2 separate regions of the Homo sapiens genome follow, and region 1 is linked to region 2. Evidence: promoter capture Hi-C in 16 types of primary human blood cells and fetal thymus (Javierre and others, 2016). All regions are on one chromosome and are shown on one strand. The core of a region is centred on a gene start or on the middle of the fragment in contact, and the rest is flanking DNA. Distances in the headings are between cores, read along the strand shown. Region 1 overlaps TRIM6 (tripartite motif containing 6). Region 2 holds the start of TRIM68 (tripartite motif containing 68).

Evidence for each region. Contacts are between HindIII fragments. The CHiCAGO score rates a contact against its expected background, and 5 or more counts as called.
Region 1: a fragment that was not itself captured here is called in contact with the fragment with the promoter of TRIM68 in region 2 in 1 of 17 cell types (activated CD4 T cells); the score reaches 5.2 in activated CD4 T cells.

The regions. Positions count from the first base shown.
Region 1 is chr11:5,596,898-5,601,748 of GRCh38, forward strand. TRIM6 (tripartite motif containing 6) reads left to right here. Exons shown (of 8, transcript NM_001003818.3): 1 at 1-17. The coding sequence starts at 1. TRIM6-TRIM34 (TRIM6-TRIM34 readthrough) reads left to right here. Exons shown (of 14, transcript NM_001003819.4): 1 at 1-17. The coding sequence starts at 1. It also overlaps a transcript of TRIM5 not described here. Among named protein-coding and RNA genes, the nearest start is that of TRIM6-TRIM34, 2.7 kb to the left of the region's middle. RefSeq lists enhancers at 1-428, 3,462-3,756. The HindIII fragment of the contact is 1,010 bases long and covers 857-1,866 here.
Region 2 is chr11:4,604,278-4,610,538 of GRCh38, forward strand. TRIM68 (tripartite motif containing 68) reads right to left here and starts at 3,954. Exons shown (of 7, transcript NM_018073.8): 1 at 3,750-3,954; 2 at 802-1,284. The coding sequence starts at 1,227. RefSeq lists silencers at 3,519-3,598, 3,909-4,118. The HindIII fragment of the contact is 6,370 bases long and covers 1-5,374 here.

The sequences.
Region 1 (4,851 bases), core at 112-2,611, 990 kb after region 2:
ATGTGCGGGTCAGAGAGGTATGTCTACCGTTCTGTTGACTGGCTCTTATTGTCACTTCTGGCAGAGGTGACAGGGCAGTGAAAGAGATAAGGTCCTTTCCCTTTCGGAACTCATTATATCTTTATTTCTTTTTCTTTCTCACTGCAAATGACCCCACTGAGGTTAGAGACATTTTAATCAGTCAGTCAATAGAGACAGAAATGTGTGGTTAGGAGCATAGATGCCGCAGCCAGACTGCATGTGTTCAAATCCTGACTCTGACAGACACTGGCTGTGTGCCCGAAGACTGTTAACTTGACTTCTTTGAGCTTTAGTTTCTTCCATCTATAAGATGGACGGAGTAATATGTATATCTTAGAGTTTTGGTGAGGATTGAGTGAGACAGATTTAAACACGTAGGAGGCTGCCTGACACAAATTATGGTCATTATTACTGGCAAACTCCATGCCTAGCTTTAAAAAAATGCACAATCAAAACAATTTTTAAATTATAGGTTTCTGAAATGCAGGGGGTAGAAATTCTTTTGAAGTGGAAATTAAATTTTTTGTTTTGAAACTGATTATGTTCCAATTCAAATATTTATTGAGTCCTGTTAGATAATCAATTGCAGATAATAGGTTAAATATAACCCTACACAAAGATAAAAAAAAATGTTATTCCTAAAGTGCAAGAACTCATGCCCAACTCACTTATAAATGCAACTGCCACCTATTTTATTCCACTTTCACTAGGGCTCCCAGCTGGTGGACGGGCCCGCTCTGTCATTCCTAACTCTGAACCCCCAGCCTACACCAGCCCCAGTATCCCCTGCTGAGTCACTGATTTTTATTCTGAAAGCCATTTTGATATCGATGCAAGCTTCCATTCTAAAAGATGCTTCGTATCTAAATAGCAGGCCATTCTCTGTCCCCCTCCCTCTTCTAGCTGTTTTGCACCCTAAATTGTATCCACCTGGGAAAGAAGGTCCTTTATCTAAGGCAGTGCTTCTGAAGCCTTAATGTGCGTAAGAATCACCTAGAGAACTTTAATATTAAAGTGCAGATTCTGAATCATTCCAGGAAAGACTGAGATTCTGCATAAAGAACTCCAAGTGCTTGCAGTGTTGCTAGTTAGCAGACCTTTTTCAGGCGTCTGGTTCTGATTTAATTGGTCCCACCTGGTTGTGAATTTGGGCTCTTTCTTCTGCTAATTTGATGCACTGGGCTCTGGGACTGCAGGCTCTTCTCGTCTGCACTCCTCACAGTCAGAATGCCTTCTCTCAGCCCGTCCACACTGCTCTGGAGACTTGGCCTCAGTTGGAAACTGGCAGCCTCCCATATCTCCCTTGGGCTGCACTTAGCTGCAGTGGGCAGTCAGGGCTTGCTGGTGTGTGGGCAAGGGTCACCTATGCTAACTGTATGCTCCCCTCCTTCACAATTTCTTTCCCAAGCCTCAGCTTTGACAAGAGACCTCAACTCTTACAAATCTTTTTTCTGCTCAAGAATTTTTCTCTGTCTAAAGAGAGTATTAGATGAATATCTACAGCGCATATTAGATAGGAAAAAGACATATAATGAACTAGAAATAGAATGAAGCCACATATGTAATGTTACATACTCAAGTAGCCTCATTAAAAATAAGCGGGTGAAATTAATTTTAATACATTTCATTTAACCCAATACATGCAAAATACAATTAGGACATGTGATCAACATAAAAAAATTAATAAGATCCTTTAACTTTTTTAAACTAAATCTTCAAAATCCAATGTGTATTTTGTACCTAAAGCAACCCATTTCTGAGTAGCCACACTTCAAATGCTCAAGAGCCATATCTGGCTACATGTTTGACAACACAGTTCCATTATGCTTAGAAGATCAGAAACCAAGCTTTTAATTTTTCTTGTATTTTTTTGTTTCTGTCAGTTTATTGAGTTCTATCTAGTAAGTTACAAATTGTAAGCATACAGTTCTGTGAATTTTCACAGTTGCAGTCAGCTGTGTAACCACCACCATGATCATGATACATAAAGGGCATTTCCCTTTATGTATTCACCCTTCAAATTTCCTTATGCCCTTTGCAGTTCAAACTTTTCTCCCACTCCTGGGCCCTGGCTTCCACTGATGTACTTTCAAATACCATAGCTTTCTCTTTTCTAGGATTTCACATAAATAGCATCATACAATAACTTAAATTTGATGTTTGGGTTCTTTCACTTTGCATGCTTTTGAGATTTATCTTGTTGTATATATTAACAGTTTAATTGTTTGGTAATATGCCACTGTATGGATACACCACAGTTTGTTCATTTACCAGTTAGTGATGTCATGGATTCTTTTCAGTTTGGGACTATTACTACATTGCATTTATGAGGCAGTAGTTCTCCTTCAAGAGAATTGGGTACGCTAAATACAGTTTTGCCTGAAATGAAAGTGTGCATGTGTTTGTTGGGGAGGATGAATTGGAATTGGACTTTCAATTAAAATATAATACCAATACAATTATTATATTTATTTATTTATTTATTTATTTATTTATTTATTTTGAGACGGAGTCTCGCTCTGTCGCCCAGGCTGGAGTGCAGTGGCACGATCTCGACTCACTGCAAGCTCCACCTTCCGGGTTCACGCCATTCTCCTGCCTCAGCCTCCCGAGTAGCTGGGACTACAGGCATCCGCCACTACACCCAGCTAAATTTTTGTATTTTTAGTAGAGACAGGGTTTCACCGTGTTAGCCAGGATGGTCTCGATCTCCTGACCTTGTGATCCGCCTGCCTCAGCCTCCCAAAGTGCTGGGATTACAGGCTTGGGCCACCGCGCCCGGCCAACACAATTATTTTTTAACAGTAACACTTTGATAAGATAGCACATTTATTTCTATACTCTAGTGCCAACATCAAGGCCAACTATAAGCTCAGCAGTAAGCTATAATTTTCAATCCATTATAAAGTTAATTGATCATTTCCTGTGTTAGCTGCAGTGCTAAGGTCTGGGGCACCTGGAAGATAAATAGAGCCTCTATTGCCTCTAGAGCCTCTATTGCCTCTATTATCAAAGGCAATAGAGCCTTATAGTGCAGTGTGCTAAGTGAGATGATGTGGGTATGGTAGGAGATATTAACAAAGGAAATAATAGTGCAGTTCCCACAGGTGTGATTAATTTGGTTAAACAGACTCTCAGATGATAGGTAAATACGTCTGTAACACCAATTAGTACTACCAGTTAGATGCACAGAGTTCATTAATTTGTTAATTATATTTTGCACCCTTTATGGAGATGAGGAATATAAGGGAGTAATAAGAGCTCCAGCTCTGCAGCCTGCGTATCTGCATTCAACACCGGCCCCGCCACTTGAAAGATCTACTAAATACCAGTTTATACAACTATGAGATGAGATTTAAGGGACATTCATAATGTTGTTATGTGGAATTATTGAGTTATTATGTACAAAATAATTAAATTCTTGCTGAATACCTAATGGGCTTTCTGTAGATATTTGCTGTGAGCATCGCTGCTGCTAAGCATGGCAAAGCTGAAGAGCCAGGCTAGTACTTGCAGAAGCACCACAGAACACTAGATGGCAGCGCCAAGAACCTGTTTTCGGCTCGCTAGATCCCCCAGCAGGGCCGCTAGGAGGCTTATGCTTACATCCCATGACTTTTTCTTACCCTTATCTGAGACACTTTCTCAGGCCCTTTCTTCTAAGGGGAGTGTTGTTATTGGGAGGCAGTTTGATATACTTTTTAAATCCACCAGGTCCTCAAGATGGGGGTAAATTGGTACAATTTACAGGGCCTTGTGTTGAGGCCCACACGGACTGTTTTTTACATCAGTGTACATTTACTTTTGCTGGGAAACCAGCCAAAGACAAGTTAGAGAATTCTGCCTGCTCCCTACGCACTGTGGCCTGTTCAGAACAGCGAGGTCACGCCTGGAACCAGGGCCAGAGCTTCACATAGGCAGTGTTAGCTGGCTCTTCTTTGGTGGCCCAAACACAACTCCAGGTAGACAAGCAGAACAAATGGCTCCCAGTGAAAATAACTCAGTGCTGGAAACAGTTTTAAAAATTTTCTAAAGAGTATTCTCAGTGTGATTTTAAACAATGGTAACGTAATTTATCAACAACTCTTCCAAGAAAAATAGACAATAAAGGTCATATTTCTCAATGAAGATATAAGGTCTCAACTGCCTTACCGGCCACCTCTCCTTACATATGGACCCCCTTAGGATCCTGCTGAAGTTTAAGACAGGCCCTGGCAAAATCCCATCATCAAATAGGATCTCTCTCATTTCCATACTTCGAAAGCACTTGGTCCATGCCTGACTTTCACAGCCTTTACCACTGACTGTCTTTGGTCAAAGTTATGAGTTTGAGGACGAAGCTTTGAACTAGCACCCTGGAAAGGTTAGGTTATGCCAATTCTACAACTTACAAGGTGCATGATTGTGTAAAGTCACTTAATGTCTCTTCTTATTAAAGAATGGAGAATACTCTTATTTATGCAGAGTTGTCCATGAGGGATAAAGAAAGCAAGAGAATGTGATTTCTAAATCACAACTGGTTACAGAATCATGAGTTGTAAAAATATTACCTCCCCAGGCTGGGCGCAGTGGCTCACGCTTGTAATCCCAGCACTTTGGGAGGCCAAGGCAGGCAGATCACTTGAGGTCAGGAGTTCGAGATCAGCCTGGCCAACATGGTAAAACCCTGTCTCTACTAAAAATACAAAAATTAGCTGGGCATGGTGGCGCTCACCTGTAATCCCAGCTACTCAGGAGGCTGAGGCACGAGAATCGCTTGAACCCGGGAGGCAGAGGTTGCAGTGAGCCGAGATAGTGCCACTGCCCTCCAGCCTGGGCGATAGAGCAAGA
Region 2 (6,261 bases), core at 2,704-5,203:
ACCAATGCTGGATCACTGGATCACAGAATCACTGAGATAATGGTTCCGATAAAGATGTCATTATGGGCATCTGATGAAAGAGTAAAGAGAAGCCCAGAAGCTGGAAGTTGATGAGGTTAGCTACAAAAAAGGAGTCCCAGGTTTGTCAGAGATGACTTGTCAAACAAACAAACTTGGGAGAGGAGAAAGTGCAAGAAGACTTGAGTCACAGCCTCTGATCTTCCTTTCACTAACTGGACCTGAAGTCAGAAAGGACCTGAGAAGACTATATCAGATGACCTCTCTCAATCTTGTGACTCACCCATAGTTCTTTCCACCTCTAAAATAAATTGCCATGTTTTCAACTTTCTAAGCCTCACTTTTGTCTATAAAATGAAGGAGGGAAGTGATCCATTCAATGCCAAATGACTACTTGCAGCACTGCTAGGAGGAGTTTGCAGGTCAGGTGTAGCCTTGACCATCTATATAAGAGCCTCATGCCTAAACTCATCCAAGGCATCCAGAATCTCAGTTAAAACCCAAACTGTTTTCCTTCACATTCTCATTACTGAAATCAGCCTTGGGTTAGGAATTGAGCCCTGTTAGGATGTAGGTGTAGAGGAAGTGGGAGAGCAGGAAATCAAGGAAGGTCATGAATACAAGGAAAGGTATAGCTCTCTGTATCAGATTCCAGGGATCTCTGGGTGTCAGGAACCAAAGGAGTTAGCTCTCAGTCTGTGGTGCTGGTGGTCAAGCCCTTGATCTAGAAACAGCCAACTTGGGGCCGGGGTTAGACTGGAGTGGCCAGCTTCCATCTCTCACCTTGTACTCCCAGGCAACATCCTCCATTGGCACAACACTGTGGGCCTCATGCTCTGGGGACTGGCTGCAGGCCTCACACATTATCAAGACATCCTCTTTGCAGAACATCTTCAGCTTTTCCCCATGGCGCTCACACAGGTCACCCTTCAGCCCCATTCCTGGATGTAGCCTTAGCAGACGGACTTTTTCTACAACATTGGCCAGCTGCCAATTAGGCCGCAGGTTCCTTGGCTGGACAGGAGCTCGACAGAGGGGACAGGTGTAACCCCAGTTCTGGGATTCTCCTGGGATCTCCCAGAGTCCAGAGAGACAGCTGTGGCAGAAGCTGTGGCCACAGTCAATGCTCATGGGCTCCCTCAGGAAGGTCATACAGATGGGACAGGCCACTTCTTCCACAATGGCTTCCACCAAGGCTGTGGGATCCATGGTTCCTTCTCACACCCTCCTCAGAACATGAATGAAACCAGGGAGAAGTAGTAAAGGCTGAGAAGAAGAAAAGAAAGACAAATAAGAGAAAAAGGTAACAGAGGAACAGAGAGATCAGTAACAGGAATAATTAATTTCTGGGGGAAAACCACCTTCCTTTTGACCCTTTACTGACCTTCTTTAATAAGCATTGGCCTTTCCAACTGAAGGGTGCATGGTCTGAACGGGCCACATTACTCATACCATGAAGGGGATAATGGGGATGCCTAAGTGAGTGAATATTGGGAGTCCTCGGTTTTCATTCACTTGGTCAACTCTGATTTTCCTCTGGGTTTGCTCTACTTGACCATTACCACTCCAATCATGCTCTACAAATCAGCATTATTTCTCTTAAACTTGGGTAAGTTCACATAAAATGTGGTATTTCAGTATCTGAAGTAAGGCCATAAATACCTCCAGCCTCACTCTCTGGTATGTTTATATTTACATTAATATAATTCAAAGTGTCAAAAGGTAGTATGCCAGAAGCCCATTGCCTACAAGCTCAATTTGTTTTCTTGTGTTGCACACTAAAATGCAAAAACTGTAAAGGAAACAGCAGTTCTTTTCCTGTGCCTTTTAAACCCCTGCCCACTGCTCCAGCACTAATGTACTTATTATTCACCAAGATGTCAAGGTAGTCTTCTGAGCTTTTAGTGATATGCTAGAAGCAGAGATGAAATAACATCCCTTGGAGATTAAAACAAAGATCATTTGATGATCATCACACCCATATTGATGAAATCACTACACCAGCAAGAAATCTGAGATTTTTGCCAGGGCCACATATGGGCATGGAACTTGGTCAATGGCAGGCTCTTGGCTCAGTTGGCAATATTTATTCATTCACTTTGCTAGTTTGTGTTACCAGCTAGAATCTATACAAGGAAGGGACATGTTGATCCTAGTTCCTGTTGTATCCTCAGCACCTAAACAGCACCTGCAATGCAGATATTGCTGAGTAAATATTTGTTGAATGAATTAACCAGCTAGACATAGGAAATAGTTCCTAAACCCAAAATCCTTTTAGCATTTGTGAGGTAAATTGAGAGCATACATTAATAATAAAAGCAAGCACTCTTTGAGCAGTTCTATGATGTGCCAGGCACTGTTCTGAGCACTTTACATGAATTAAGTTGGTTTATTTCACAACCCTAGGCAGAGGCCATTATTGTTCTCATTTTACAGATGTTTGGCTTGGGGCTCTGCCATCTATCTTGGGCAAATTTCTTAACCTCTTTAGCTTTAAGGTATAATACAAATTCAAGAGGAGAGAAAAATCACTGTGGTTTAGCGCAGTCCAGTAGCAGGAAGCAGGAAGCAGAGCAGTAAATCTTGCAGGACTCTGATATGCCATTGGCAGGGCATGCCTTCTCACTAGACTCCCTGCCTCCTGCTTTTCTTCCTCCCACTATCACTACCAAACTGTGGGATCCAGTATCCTAAAACCTCATTTTGGTAAATCACTAACTTACTAAATAATCTATCCTGGCTCCCGGTTAACAAGATCTCTCCTTGAAACAGCACCTGTGCCCAGCTAGGCAAAGGAATAAACTTCCACACACTCCCGCAAACCCCTCGTCCATTCAATCTACCTGACTTGGGTGCCTGCTATTCTCCCAGCTGAAAATGACTTCTACATGATCCTGCCTTTGACGTCATTTGCCATGTATTCGTCTATTGTCTTACTTCCCATACTAGAACTTTTTCATGTGGATAGGGTCATTGTCTGTTTTGTCCATTTCTATTTCCCCAGTGCCAAGAACAGTGCCTCAAATACTTGTTGAATACGTGAAAACTAAATGTAAATGTTGAGTTCCAACCGATAGTAGATTGAAAGTGGAGGATGTGTTAATATCCTTAGCTAAGTCAGTAGAGACATTAAGAGACACCATCTAAAGTCAATAAAACAATAAATGGAAGTTGATACCCATTATTTAAAGCTACAAATGGAAGACCTAAAATAGCGATGGAAAATTGACAAGATTGTGGCAGTAAGAAAGTAAGGCAAAGAAATATCAAAATGATAAATCCAGAAATACAGTGGAACGCATATTATTTTGATTTAGGGTGCTAAAAACATCTAAATGGGGACAAACTAAAAGTGGCAGCCTCTGCAAAGATCTGGGGATGGGTAGTTACTGCTCTTCAAAATAAGACCTGCTTTAATGTTTGACTTTTTATTATACATGAATTACTTTGAGAAAATTCAAATAATTAAACGTTCGGTTGCTTTGACTGTGCCTTCCGTAGGGTACAGCGAGAGTCTGAGAAGGGCATTTGAGAAGGGGGCGGGGCCTGGAAGACTTCCAGTTAGGACCCCAGCGGGAAGGGAGTCGAGGGGCGGGCGGTAACCTCCGGAGTCAGGGAGCAGCTCCTGGCCTGGCCACAGGGCGTTGGGCAGGTCCCCAGGACAGCGGGCGGGTGGGGGTAAAGTGAGCGTGCGGGATCTGACTTCAGAAAAGGCAGAGTTATCTACCCACCTCCCTCCTCGGCCCGGACTGGCGCTTCGCGGCGGAAACTCAAAGTGAAGAAGCCTGGTTCCGCAGCGTCCAATGGCCCAGCGTCAGAAGCTGCCGTTCCCGGCAGCTCAGCACTTAGGGCCAGAGAGCGGCAGAGGCCCAGAACCCAAAGCCCGGCAGCGCAGGCCCAGTAGCCCGCAGCTCCCAGAATACTACACCCGGCTCTAGGCCCCGCTCGCGGGACGGCAGCCAATGAGCGGCCGGCTGGGCCCAGGTTGGCTTCGCCCAGGGGGCGGTGTGTTTGTGGGGGCAGCCAATCACAGGCAGGGACCAGGGTACCCCTAGCCAATTGGTGATGAGACGGGGGTTTCGGCGCTTCTAGGCATGTCAATGTTTTTTCTCTACTTCCTGGGTTTTTCTGGTCCCTTCACCGACTCAGATTCCCTTAAACTGTAGAGGGTTCTAGGAGTTAGTTCTAGGATAGGTCAAAGGATTGAGGCTCCCAAATGATGCCGCTCAGGCACTGCATTAAGAGAGGCTCAGGTGGCTATTCATTTGCCAGTTTGACTTGTTAAACTCAGAAGCCTGAGATTGGCCAAGTCTGGTTCTGTGACCCATCTTAGCAAAGGGTTGGGCGCACATATGGTGTGGACTCTGCTGTTCCTGGCAAGATTCGCGACCTCTCATGGTTCCAGGCTTTAAATACTGGGTTCTTAAACAAAACAAAACAAAACAAAACAAAACCCTCTCTTTTTTCGTTTTTACTTCAGCAACCAGCTTGTCATCACTATTGCCACAATCCACTTTTAGAGTGAAAAACAGACAACAGAGACCGGGAGTTGATGGAGAAATGGAAACCCTGGTCAAAAATTGTCATTAAAAAAGGAAAAAAAAATTAAACAACTGGTATCCCTTCCTCACCCAAACACATAGACACATGCACGCACACACAAAAACTGTTACTTAAGACAGTGATATGGGTTTTTCTTTGTACTCCCAGGGCCTTGTCCTTCTCTTGACACTTAGGTTTTAATAAGCAAGTGAAGGCACCTCCTATCCGCATAGAAAATAACCAGGAAATCTTCCAATTGAAGCTCGGTTCCAAATTATATAATATCTTAATTGTTAGGACAGATACTCCAGAATGCTCATGCCAGTGTCTGAGCCCCGGCCATGGTTAAAATTCTGAAGGGTGAGGCCCAGAAATTTCCTGCAACAAATAGGTCTATGAGAAAAAACAAAAGTATCTTAGGTCTGAGCTGTACCCTCTGTCTCACCCAGTTTTGGAGAAATGGCTGCTCTAATAGAATAATGAATGGATTAATTGAAATAAGCCATTTTAAACATTTATTTAACATCAATTTTCTTGACAATATTTTACTGGGTGCTGGGATTACAACTATGGGACATATAGTCTCTGCCTTTAAGGAGCTGAAGGTCAAGTTGGTTGTACTGCTCTGGAATCTCTGTGAAGTTAAAACAGTTAATGGGGAGATCATTTTCATGTGTAAGGTGCAATTTGTAACTATGACGGACTGTCAAGAACCCTGGCAATCAGGGTAGCTGGGGGTGGGGGCTTGCGTTCATGTGGGGAAGGCTGGAGAGAGGGCTTTTGAAGACAGACCAGTTTACTTCCAAGGCATAGAAGCTTTCCTTTACAGATGTCTTCAGAATGTTTTGTTTGTTTCTTTATTTGTTTGCTGTGAGACAGGTGTGTCCAGGTGAGGCTCTGTCGTGGACAAATTCCACAGCTGTAGCTGCAGACCCCAACCCTCTGCCCTGAATCCAGGATAGACCAGGACAACAAGATGAGTGGCTAACTGTAGGATGGTGTCCATCTGTGCTCTAGGGGAGGAGTAGCATCAAAGGAGAAGCAAGAACTGAGAACTGTTTGGGGCACTGAAGAAGTAGGACTAAGGAAGAGTTAGGGGGTTAGTACAAATCTGAGGCCTGGTTTTCTGGAAAGAGACCAGAGACTGACCTTATTGCATGTCATACAACATGCTTGCTTAGAGACCCCTAATTTATTTTCTTCTCTTACTCTTTCTGAGGAAGCATGAGCCACACCCTCAGTTAGTTTTGTATAATCTTAGGCTTGATGAGAATATAATCTTAGTCTTGAAGGCTTTAAAGGGGAAGAAATAGCTGTCTGTGTTAGTGGTGTGTCAGTCAGCAGGAGAACCTGCTAGGGGTGGAAGGAGGAGGGTAGGAGTATAGCCTAGACCATGAGTAGATACCCCGCTCCACCTTGAAAGTCTCCTACTGGACCTCTTATGATGGAGTTAATACCTCCTGTTTCCTCTATTCCAGATTGTTTTCAGTTTCCAGAAGGCAAAACTGACATCTCCCAGGAGTCCAAGTAGGAGATTAGGGCCTCCCGTCCCTATCTACTCAGTGCTAGCCTTGGCTAAGAGAGAGGAAATTCCTGCCTAGAGGGGAAAATCTGCAGGACTTCGTTACCACTTTCACTTTGGCAGAGGAAGGAGGTCAGGGATGGAAGGGGAAGTGAGTCTAGAAATTAAAACATAGAATT